Linked DNA regions of Homo sapiens: all the other regions are linked to region 1. Evidence: promoter capture Hi-C in human tissues and cell types (Jung and others, 2019). All regions are on one chromosome and are shown on one strand. The core of a region is centred on a gene start or on the middle of the fragment in contact, and the rest is flanking DNA. Distances in the headings are between cores, read along the strand shown.

What was found. Contacts are between HindIII fragments. The study calls those that stand out against the background at their distance.
Region 2: a fragment that was not itself captured here is called in contact with the fragment with the promoter of EVI2A in region 1 in 1 of the 25 tissues and cell types used here (lymphoblastoid cells).
Region 3: a fragment that was not itself captured here is called in contact with the fragment with the promoter of EVI2A in region 1 in 1 of the 25 tissues and cell types used here (aorta).

Annotation. Positions count from the first base shown.
Region 1 is chr17:31,319,867-31,323,541 of GRCh38, reverse strand. EVI2A (ecotropic viral integration site 2A) reads left to right here and starts at 1,920. Exons shown (of 2, transcript NM_014210.4): 1 at 1,920-2,047. The region is part of intron 36 of NF1 (neurofibromin 1); the gene reads right to left. The HindIII fragment of the contact is 10,482 bases long and covers 1-3,675 here.
Region 2 is chr17:30,740,910-30,744,584 of GRCh38, reverse strand. It overlaps the pseudogene SUZ12P1. Among named protein-coding and RNA genes, the nearest start is that of CRLF3, 82 kb to the left of the region's middle. The HindIII fragment of the contact is 6,485 bases long and covers 1-3,675 here.
Region 3 is chr17:30,786,497-30,790,171 of GRCh38, reverse strand. All of the region lies in intron 6 of CRLF3 (cytokine receptor like factor 3), which reads left to right. It also overlaps the pseudogene SUZ12P1. Among named protein-coding and RNA genes, the nearest start is that of CRLF3, 36 kb to the left of the region's middle. The HindIII fragment of the contact is 4,601 bases long and covers 1-3,675 here.

The sequences.
Region 1 (3,675 bases), core at 671-3,170:
TTTCTCAGCATATGTTCTGTGGACTACTGGCGTCAGAATCAACTGTGGTGCTTGATAAAAATGCAGTTTCCTGGTCCCAACCTGGACCTACTAAATATGGATCTATGTAGTGGGGCCTGGAAATTTTTATCTTTTTTTTTTTTCCCTTAACTCAGGCTGGACTGCAGTGGCACGGTCACAGCTCACTGTAGCCTTGACCTCCCCAGGCTCAGGTGATCCTCCCACCTCAGCCTCCTGAGTAGCTGGGACTACAGATAAGCGCCACCATGCCCGGCTAGTTTTTTGTTTTTGTTTTTTTGTATTTTTTGTAGAGACAGGATTTTGCCATGCTGCCCAGGCTGGTCTCGAATTTCTGTGGCTCAAGTAATCCTCCCGCCTCAGCCTCCCAAAGTGCTGAGATTACAGGTGTGAGCCACCATGTCCTGCTTTTATAATTTTTAAACAATCTTCTCATCTGATGTTTATGTACACAAACATTTCTGAATCATTGTTGTATGTATTAGGGAACTGTTCAACCGGTTTTATTTTCCCTTAAAGAAAGGGTGGTATGACCAAAGACAGTGATGTATACAAGATATAAGAAGGATTCAGGGCTACCGAAAAGGCACTGTAGAGTCTAGGTATGACCTGATAAGGATCTAAAATAGTACTGTTGACAGTAAAAACAGGGAAAAAGAAACTGATCCAACAATATGAAGGAAGGACCAACATGATTCAAAGTCTGATCAGGACTGAGAGGACTTAAATTAAAATGATGTGTTGTATACTAAGCCTCTGATATTAGAATGTTGCTATCATGAACAGAAACAAGAAGACTGTCACAGGCAGCCTCCTTTAAAGAAAAAATAAAGTTCTTTTTATTTCATTAATTTAATTAATTTTTAAGAGATGGAGTCTTGCTATGTTACCCAGGCTGGATTTGAACTCCTGGGCTCCACCAGTGATCCTCCTACCTCAACCTACCTAGTAGCTGGGATTACAGATATGTGCTGCCATATCCAGTTCTTTTTTTTTTTTTTTTTTTTTTTTTTTTTTTTTTTGAGACAGAGTCTTACTCTGTCTTCCTGGCTGGAGTGCAGTGGCATGATCTTAGCTCATGCAGCCAAGATCTCATGATCTCTGCAGCCTCCACGTCCCGGGTTCAAGCTATTCTCCTGTCTCAGCCTCCCAAGTAGGTGGGACTACAGGTGCATGCTACCCTGCCTGGTTAATTTTTATATTTTTAGTAGAGACAGGTTTTCTCTATGTTGGCCAGGCTGGTCTTGAACTCCTGGCCTCAAGTGATCTGCCTGCGTCAACCCTCCCAACGTGCTGGGATTACAGGTGTGAGCCACCGTGTTCAGCCCATACCTAGTTCTTAAAGTCTGTTTCAGTCATGTTAAACTTGAGGTGATGACAGGATGTTTGACAGTTGTGTGTGTGTGTGTGTGTGTGTGTGTGTGTGTGTATACACACACTACACCACACGAAAGCATTTTCTGTCCCATATAATCTAAGTTTACTAGATATTTTCTCAAATAATTGCTGCAGTTCCACAATTGTTACATTATCTGATCAGTATCCCATGGACTCCAAACTCACATTTTCAAATCAGTCTGTAGATTTCAAATAAGTCTTTTAGAGAAGATTTGAAATGGAAGATACCATTTCAAAACCTCTTTTGAATGACACTAAAGCATGTAGCAGGCCTATAGAATGAGCATACTGTCAAAAGGCATTAAGTGGAAAACCCTCCCTGCTCTGGAGGCGGGGATTGGTTCTACAAAGCCTCCTGTCATGCCAGTGGCCAACTAGAGAAGTTGGAGCTTTTTCGTTGTTTTTTTTTTTTTCCCTCCTGTGACATGTGCTTTAGTTGCAGTGGAAAGGAAATGTGTCATCTGTGGTTTGGTTTTAAAAGTGGAAAACTAGCTGCACATATCCTTTTTTACTGCAGATTTACTTTAAGGCTCATATTCTCCAAGTCTATTCTGCTTTAAAAAGAAGACAAGAAAAGAAGTGGTTTATCAAAATCACGTTATAATCAGATTTTGACCAAGCATTTTGTAAGGTAGGTCATATATATACGGCTTTTCTTATGCCTTTTCACTTCTAACGTCTGACAGATTAGTGTTCGAGGAAATGCTATCAAAGTGTGTAAGAATCTCACTAACAAACTAGAATTGTGACTGAAAATGTATACTTTTTTTTTCTGTCCTGTTACATAAATTTTAAGTTAGAAATGAAAAAATTTGCCATCGCCATGGAGTTTTAAATTAGGATTACGAAGGATCTAAGTTTGGTTTCCTCAAGTAAACTGGAAATGTTTTGTTATTTTTCAAAAGTTAAAAAATAAATTTCTCATTACTAATGCTTGGACATTACAAATTCTACTGAAAATAAATTCTACTGAAAATGATCAGATATAAGAAAACTTCTGATAACACAACCTGGCCTCCAAGGCATAAACTGGAGTAAAAACAGTCCTCAATTCTCAGGCATTTGTAAGGGCAAGAGAAAGTCTCATTTTGTCATACAGTTTGTTTATTTGGGCACTGCAGTACATCTGGCTGAAGACAATCAACAGCAGGCCTATTATCTGTTCCGTGGTAAGCACTGTTAAAATGTGTACCAATACTATGATGTATACTACACTGTTAATGAACTAATGTGAAAAGAATAATCTACTTTAAATCATTCTAGCATCTAATACAGAAGTCCAGTCTAGTATAAAAAGATGGAAATTACTTGCTAATCCAATTTCAAGTATTTCTTTTTGTGGAAGAATCATGAAATATCCAAAGATTTATGTCACTAAACTTAAAAATTAAAGCTGAACACTATTATACAAAAGCCAGTGACTTGGGCCTTTAATTGTCTACTAAAGGTCATAATCTAAAAAGTAATCTTAATCCTGGAATATTTAATAGTTTTTCCTCCCTACTATTAATATGAAATATAGTCTCCAGTTAGCATTGTTTATTACATGCTACTTTTGTTTGCATAACTCAACGTATCACATTTCTTATTTTCAATTTCTGTATTTTAATAGTATACAAATGTCAGCCAATGACATATAACAACCATTTCTTATAAAACCTTGATGTTCAAAAGCCTGACTAGCAGTGGCATCCATGTTGCTTAGGAGTTGGTTTGGAAACAAAGACTTTCAGGCCCTACCTATACTAGCTAGGTAAGAATCTGCCTTTTTTTTTTTTTTTTAAATAAAAGGACTCCTAAGTACATTTGAGAAGAATTTCTATAGCATACGTAGGGTTCTTAACCAGGCAATTTCATTTAGTAAATCTCAGGAGAACAATATAGTTTTGCTTTTAGTTCATTCAAATAAATGCTAACAATAAAATACTCCTTTCAAAAGTAGCTCAAGACAAACTGGTATATTATTATAAGATACCTTAATAATGATTATAAATCTTTCCTGCTGGGTTAGCAGTACATGGAACTGTTAAATTCTAAGATATGCCATTTCTATTTAAATCAATCATTTGGTAGATTTAAAAAATGTATAATATAACTTGTCTCCTTTTTGTACTAGTTTCCAGCAAGCTCAGGGCCAAAGCGGAAATTCAACATTTTCAATTATCTGTTGAGATGCTTATAACCTGCCACTTCATCCCAAATCATCAAGATCCTGATGCTCTATTTCTATTTTATTACACATTTTTTTTTACAATTATG
Region 2 (3,675 bases), core at 297-2,796, 580 kb after region 1:
TCTAGTAAAGAAAAATGTGTGTGCACTGCGAATATTCTCAGTTCTATCTTATAGGGTCCTCCCTGGGCATTAACAGATGTACCAGGTAACAATTCAGGATCTCAGCTTCTAGAATGGACTATCACAGTTTATTTACAAGTCAGGACTGCCTAGACATGGAAATATAAATTATACTTCAACCCCACAAGATTGCAGGATATAAAATAAAAAATATCATTTTACAATCCAAGTAAAAAAATCACTTAATTCCAAAGCCAAACTTAAAGTAGAAGGAAGCCAAACTGAAAAAAAGGAAGTCTTTTACCAGTTAACAGAACAATGGGAAAACAATGAGATGCATAAATGATGCATCATTAAGTGTGTATCCTATCTAAATTCGTAAGCTGTGATTTAAAACTAGAAGGAAAAGAAAAATGCACTGTGACAAATTTTCCAACTCTATTTTTTTAAGAATCTAATATTTTTAGTTCTGCATTCTCTCTAAAGGTAGTTAATGAATGAACAAACACCACCCAAGCTGCTGTTTCTCCTTAGAATATTCAATTTTCTATCAAAAATATCAAAAAATAAAGTTTACATATCAAAAAATAAATAGAAGCATACTATCTAGAGTAGACAGATATCAGACTAGTCAGAACATTTAGGGATTCGTTCTAGGTATATATTTGCTAATGTACAATAAGTAGATTCTGTCCAAATGTTCAAGTTTCTGAAACTATGTGAGAAACATATTTCAAATATGAAATAAAAGTTATGAATATGTTGCCTGACAGATTTAAATGAGAAGAAAAAGATGGAAAAAAAGAGAACCCCTCTCATATTTGAGAATAACTTACAAGATACGTGATATTGTGAAGTCCCTGCCACAGTACCTAGCACATATACTATAAATGTGAGTATCCCTCTTTAAATGAGGTGGTAGAGTTAAGACCAACGGCAGAAGTCAGAGGTTTCACTCAAAATGGAAGAAACTGGTAATAAAGATAAAGAATAATAAATACAACTACACTGGAGGTATTCAAGCCACAGCTTAAGTATTCTCTGCCAGGAATGCTACAGAAATTAATTTCTGACTTGTGTGTGAGTTTGGACCAAACTGACCTCTAAGATTCCTTCTAACTCCTTATATCAAGGTGATCACTAGGAAAATGATCACTGTAATTTTTCCTCTTTCCTAAAGTATATCACTTAATGTAAACTGATAGGTTATCTTACCTATGAGATTCTTGCTCTCCTTTCATTTTCTCTACTTTTGATAACATATCATCAACTTTAAATGTTTTCCTGGAAGAAACAGATAAACAAAATAATCACTTCTCAACTGGATAAAAGAAACAAATTATACTTTATTGTCACTCTAATAGGCAAGATGGAAATCAGATTTTGATTATTTTTAGTAAGATAAACTATGGATGATTAGCCATAACAATGAATACTATGGAGACGGTGTATAATACAGCACACAAGCCTTCAAGCCCCATCTAAAACGCTAACTTGTTTTCATTAAACCTTTTACCCAATTATTCCCAAACCAGTGATTTCTCCTTACCCATGGTACTTGGTTTATATTTATTTTGACACTTACTTTTCATTCAGTTTCCTACATGTAAAACTCATGTAAATATTTTATTTCTCCTACTAGATTATACACTCCTGAAGGGCAGTAATTGCTCTTCTTCAAGGAAAGCTATGCAGTGCTGGCATAGTGCCTTCTACTTGGTAGGTATTCAAGTATCTGTTGAATTAAGCCAAACAAATATAAATTATGTGTATTCTGAAACACTTAATACGTCTACTAAGCAACACAACAAATATGTACTAGCACCATCACATAAAAAAAGAAATATTCTATAAAATATATTTGAAGTTCATAAGGTATCCTCAAAGATTATCAGCAAAGCCTAAAGCTCAATGATATGTCATATTAAAGAGATGGTTGTTGACATCATGAAAAAATTTTGAAGTTAGGGAATGATCCATCAAATCGCAAAACTATTACCTTTTAACTCGACAAGTTTAAGAGAAAAAATCTATTTCCCAAAAAATTGAAAGTTAAGTATAACTTCTCAAAGCAATTAAAGAATGAATGGATTGTAAAACAAGCTTCATCTTAGTTCTTAAGGTGGTCTATGACATGTTCTAGAGATAGAGTCTAAAAATCTATACCCATATATAATTTAATTAGAAAAAATGTTTCTCTTTATACTCATATAGTCCCTTCCTCTTTAGGACTTGAAAAGCCAAATGTATTCCACATCAATTTGTTACTTTATAATGCTTGAATGCAGACACCAAAAATTACGAATAATCTCATTCGTCAAAAAGAGTTTTTTGTTTGTTTTTTTTGTTTGTTTTGTTTTGTTTTTGAGATGGGAGTGTCACTCTTGTTGCCCAGGCTGGAGTACAATGACGTGATCTCGGCTCACTGCAACCTCCACCTCCCGGGTTCAGACAATTCTCCTGCCTCAGCCTCCCGAGTAGCTGGGATTACAGGTGTGCACCACCATGCCCAGCTAATTTTTGCATTTTTAGTAGAGACAGGGTTTCACCATGTTGGTCAGGCTGGTCTTGAACTCCTGACCTCAGGTGATCTATCCACCCCTGTCTCCCAAAGTGCTAGGATTAAAGGTGTGAGCCACCATGCCTGGCCAAAAAAGAGCTATTTATTGTATTCAACTACTGTAAAAATTATCAGTAGAGAAATGTTAATGTAAATATATTATAGTAAACTACTGATATTAGAGCAGAATTGATGCAATCTATATTTCAAGTGAATGAGAAGAGCCTCCATAGCGAAGCTCTTAAGGGAAAAAAAGCTCTAACTTTAGAGTTACTGAAAACTTCAATATTAAAGTTTCATCCAAGAGTATAGTAAGAAGTGCTTTCTGAAGGATGGCTATATATTTTCAATCTCCACAGATAAGAGAGAAAAAAGAACAAAAATAAAGGACTCTTTTAGGCTAGTTGCAAAGAGCTATTCAGTATAAATACTGAAAGTTACTATTGGGGAGGGCCATGAAATTACTGAAAACTTTTCAGAATAACGTTTATGTAATGATTAAGAAATTCTGTCTGCAGAAAAAGATTGTATGTTCTAAGGTTCATCTCATCTACCTTTATGAAGCTGTATACAGGAGAAGTGAATGGAACTGAATATTAACCATTTGAAACAGATAAAATCACAAAAGCAACCCAGCCTTCCTTAGGAAAAAAACAAAACAAACCTCATAAGCAACTATATAAAAGCCGCTCCTCCCCCAACACCAAGGATTTCTGTTCTTTAGAAAGGTAATGTTACTGTAGGTCAGATTTAAAGAAGGATATAACTATCAAAAGGTCATCGAAAAGGAGCATATTTAAAAATTCAAGAAATTTCAGAAAATTTTCTTGGGAGACTTCAGAAACAGCTCACACGAAATCTAGCAAAATGGATTCAGTAAAAGATGCCCTTCTCGTGACCTATATTTTTACTTTGTTGGGGCAATGTTAGCCTATGGAAGTTGAATACTTCTAAAAAGAGTAAAGCACGAGCTGACTTTAATAAATATACCAGAATTAATATCACGACTGAGAGTATGACTTTAAAGGGAATGATATGCTTATTCCAACAATGGATATTATGTTGTTGTAATAGTAAAAAAGGAGTTCTGAAAACATTTTGAGAAAAGACGACAA
Region 3 (3,675 bases), core at 760-3,259, 530 kb after region 1:
GAATATTTTATCTAAGCCAGTGTTGCTGTATTCCTCTCCAGCTAAGTAATTTGAATTGTCAGCGGTTGTCAGATTATACTAGTTTGTTTTGTCTAATTTTTGACACCTCACCCCTTAATGAAGAATGACTCAGTAAACAGAAAAATACCAACAAAGAGAGAGAGAGGAAAAAAAAAAACAACTAATACCTAAAATCTATTTAACTATTCCCCAGGTAATCATGAGTTTTCTGTACTTACATACCCCTTCTCTGCTTATGTCCCTTGTTTACAGAAGCACTTCGGTTAGTGACTCTCCTGAGAACAAGGTATTTCTGTGCAATGACAGAGCTTCCTAACTTGATAAATTCAGGCCAGATATCTCAGACTGCAATAATGATGATAATAATAATAATTGCAGTTAATATTTAAACAGTATTTACTATGTGCCATGTACTGTCTTAAGTATTTTACTTGTATTAACTCATTTGATTTTCATGGTAACCCAGTGAGATAGATGGGTTATTTATTTTAGGGATGAGGAAACTGAGGCATAGAGAAGTTATTTACCCAGTGTCACACAGCTAGTAAATGCCAAAACTAGGGTTTAAATCCAGGCAGTTCGACTCCAGACTGGTCTGTATTGCTTCTTTTTCATGGGAGAGTTAACATGATTCTAGTTAGTGTTGAAGTCTACAGTTTCTCTATTACTGTGTCCTTAGCTCTTTAACTTTTACCTCTTATGACCTTTCACCACTTGATCTGATGCTCTCCTGCTTTTTAAATTCTTCCTCCTTGGACACATGGTAATGTCTGATAGATTGCATAGTTAGGTTTATTTCTTAGACCATTCAGTAAATATTTATTAAGACATTGGAAATTATACAAATTGATTTAAATTCACCTCTGCTGACCGTGATGTGAAAGACACATTAGGTCTCAATAAACTGTTGAGTCTCTCTTGCATCTCCTAAAGATGCATCACCAGGCCCCACTTGGCAGGGTGATTAACTGAAATTCAGTTAAACTCAATATAATGGTAGCCAGCCTTTTGCATTTTTGTCATTTTTTTCTTTGTGGAATGAAATGTTTTCTCCCCTTGTTTAAAGGAATTTCAGGCATCAGCAGTGAAGCCAGAGATGTGAATGCAAGGGGGACTCCATGCATAAGGGCATAAGGGAGGAGCAAGTGCGCCTACTTGAATCAAGAGAAACAATATTTAGTTTTTTGAGGGTACTTAAGGGCCTAGTAGTTAGAAGGGAGACTATACTCTTGAAGGCACTACGTTAGCCGGGCACGGTGGCTCACGCCTGTAATCCCAGCACTTTGGGAGGCTGAGGTGGGCAGATCACGAGGTCAGGAGTTCGAGACCAGCCTGGCCAATATGGTGAAACCCCATCTCTACTATAAATACAAAAATTAGCCGGGCGTGGTGGTGTGTGCCTGTAATCCCAGCTACTCAGGAGGCTGAGGCAGGAGAATCGCTTGAACCCAGGAGGCGGAGGTTGCAGTGAGCCGAGATCACGCCACTGTACTCTAGCCGGGGCAACAGAGTGAGATGCTGTCTCAAAAAAAAAAAAAAAAAAAAAAAAAAGAAGGCACTACTTTGTTATTTATCCCAGTCAGTCCCTGCTGAAGCTTCTGGAAGGCTTGGAGCTGCTGAAGCCAGAGAAACCTGTGATACTGGCTGGATTTTAACAGTCTCTAGACCCACTCTCATTAGATGCCCAGGTCTGCTAGCAACCCCCTCCTTCCAGGTCTCCCTCACTTCCTATGTGAACATTCCTGCTCTTTCCTTGCTTCTAAGATTTTCTGATTTTTTTTAAGGTTTCCTTCTTTCTTTTCTTTTCTTTTCTTTTTTTTTTTTTGAGACAAAGTCTCATTCTGTTGCCCAGGCTGGAATGCAATGGCACAATCGGCTCACTGCAACCTCCACCTCTCAGGTTCAAGCGACCCTCTCACCTCAGCCTCCTGAGTAGCTGGGACTACAGGCGCCTGCTACCACGCCCGGCTAATTTATTGTATTTTTAGTAGAGACGGGGTTTCACCGTGTTAGCCAGGATGGTCTCAATCTCCTGACTTTGTGATCCGCCCACCTCGGCCTCCCAAAGTGCTGGGATTACAGGCGTGAGCCACTGCACCCGGCCTATTTTCTTTCTCATTCCCCTCCCCAGCTCTCCCCCTCTTTTTGTTTAAGACAAGGTCTCGCTCTGTCGCCCAGGTTGAAGTGCAGTGGCATGATCTCAGCTCACTGCAATCGCCATCTCACAGGTTCAAGTGACCCTCTCACCTCAGCCTCCTGAGTAGCTAGGATTACAGGAGCCACTACCACACCCAGCTAATTTTTGTATTTTTTGTAGATACGGGGTTTCACCATGTTGCCTAGGGTGGTCTTGGAACTCCTGACCTCAGGTGATCCACCCTCCTTGGCCTCCCAAAGTGCTGGGATTACAGGTGTGAGCCACTATGCCCGGCCCCTCCTCCCCATACTTCTTTAGACTGCTCAGATATGAAATAACTTCAGAAACCTACCCAAATATTATGATCCTGCATGTTTGCTATTTCACAATCAATGACATTTTGAGGCCACATTGACTATAAATAATCACATCTGTCTTTGGAAAAGCCACATTTTGTTTCACACTAATTTTTTTTTTTGTCCTTGCAAAGTTGGCTTTCTGGATGGAGAGAATGATGTGTCTGGCAATAGGGATCTGTACATTTCCTATTTCAAGAGCACACAAAGTACTGACATCTGAAATGAAAACACAAAAGGAAAAGCTTAAACTTGCCACATAGGAAGTTCTTCATGCTTGAATAGTGTCTTCATAACCATAATGGGATTTTTTAGGATTATAATAGTTCTTTTTAAATGCTTTATTTACTTAACAAATAGTAATCAAATCATTGCAAATTCTTATATGGAAGATTTAGGCGCTGGCAGCAATAGTTACATAAATTATAATGTCAACTATGACAAACCTTCTATGTGTCTAGAGCTAGAATATAAAATAGAAGTGTGCCATCATGGCTACAAATGGTTAAGAATATAGATTCTAGGCCGGGCACGGTGGCTCACTCCGTAATCCCAGCACTTTGGGAGGCCAAGGAGGGTGGATCACCTGAGGTCAGGAGTTCCAAGACCAGCCTGAGCAACATGGTGAAACCGTGTCTCTACTACAAATACAAAATTAGGCCAGGTGTGGTGGCTCACGCCTCTAATCCCAGCACTTTGGGAAGCCGAGGCAGGCGGATCACCTGAGGTCAGGAGTTCGAGACCAGCCTGACCAACATGGTGAAACCCCGTCTCTACTAAAAATACAAAACTAGCCGGGCATGGTGGTGCATCCCTGTAATCCCAGCTACTCAGGAGGCTGAGGCAGGAGAATCGCTTGAACCAGGGAGGCAGAGGTTGCAGTGAGCTGAGATCGCGCCATTGCACTCCAGCCTGGGCAACAAGGATGAAACTCCATTTCAAAAAAATAGATAGATAGATTGATTGATTCTAGAGTCAGAATGCCTGTGTTTGAGTCCTGGTTCCACCAGTCATCAGCCAGGTAGTCGGGATCAGGTTATTTAGCTATTTTTAATCTTTTTTTCTTTTCGTGCCTCATTTTCCTCACTTATAAAATGGGTATGTTAAAAATAGCACCTACCGGCTGGACGCAGTGGCTCACGCCTGTAATCCCAGCACTTT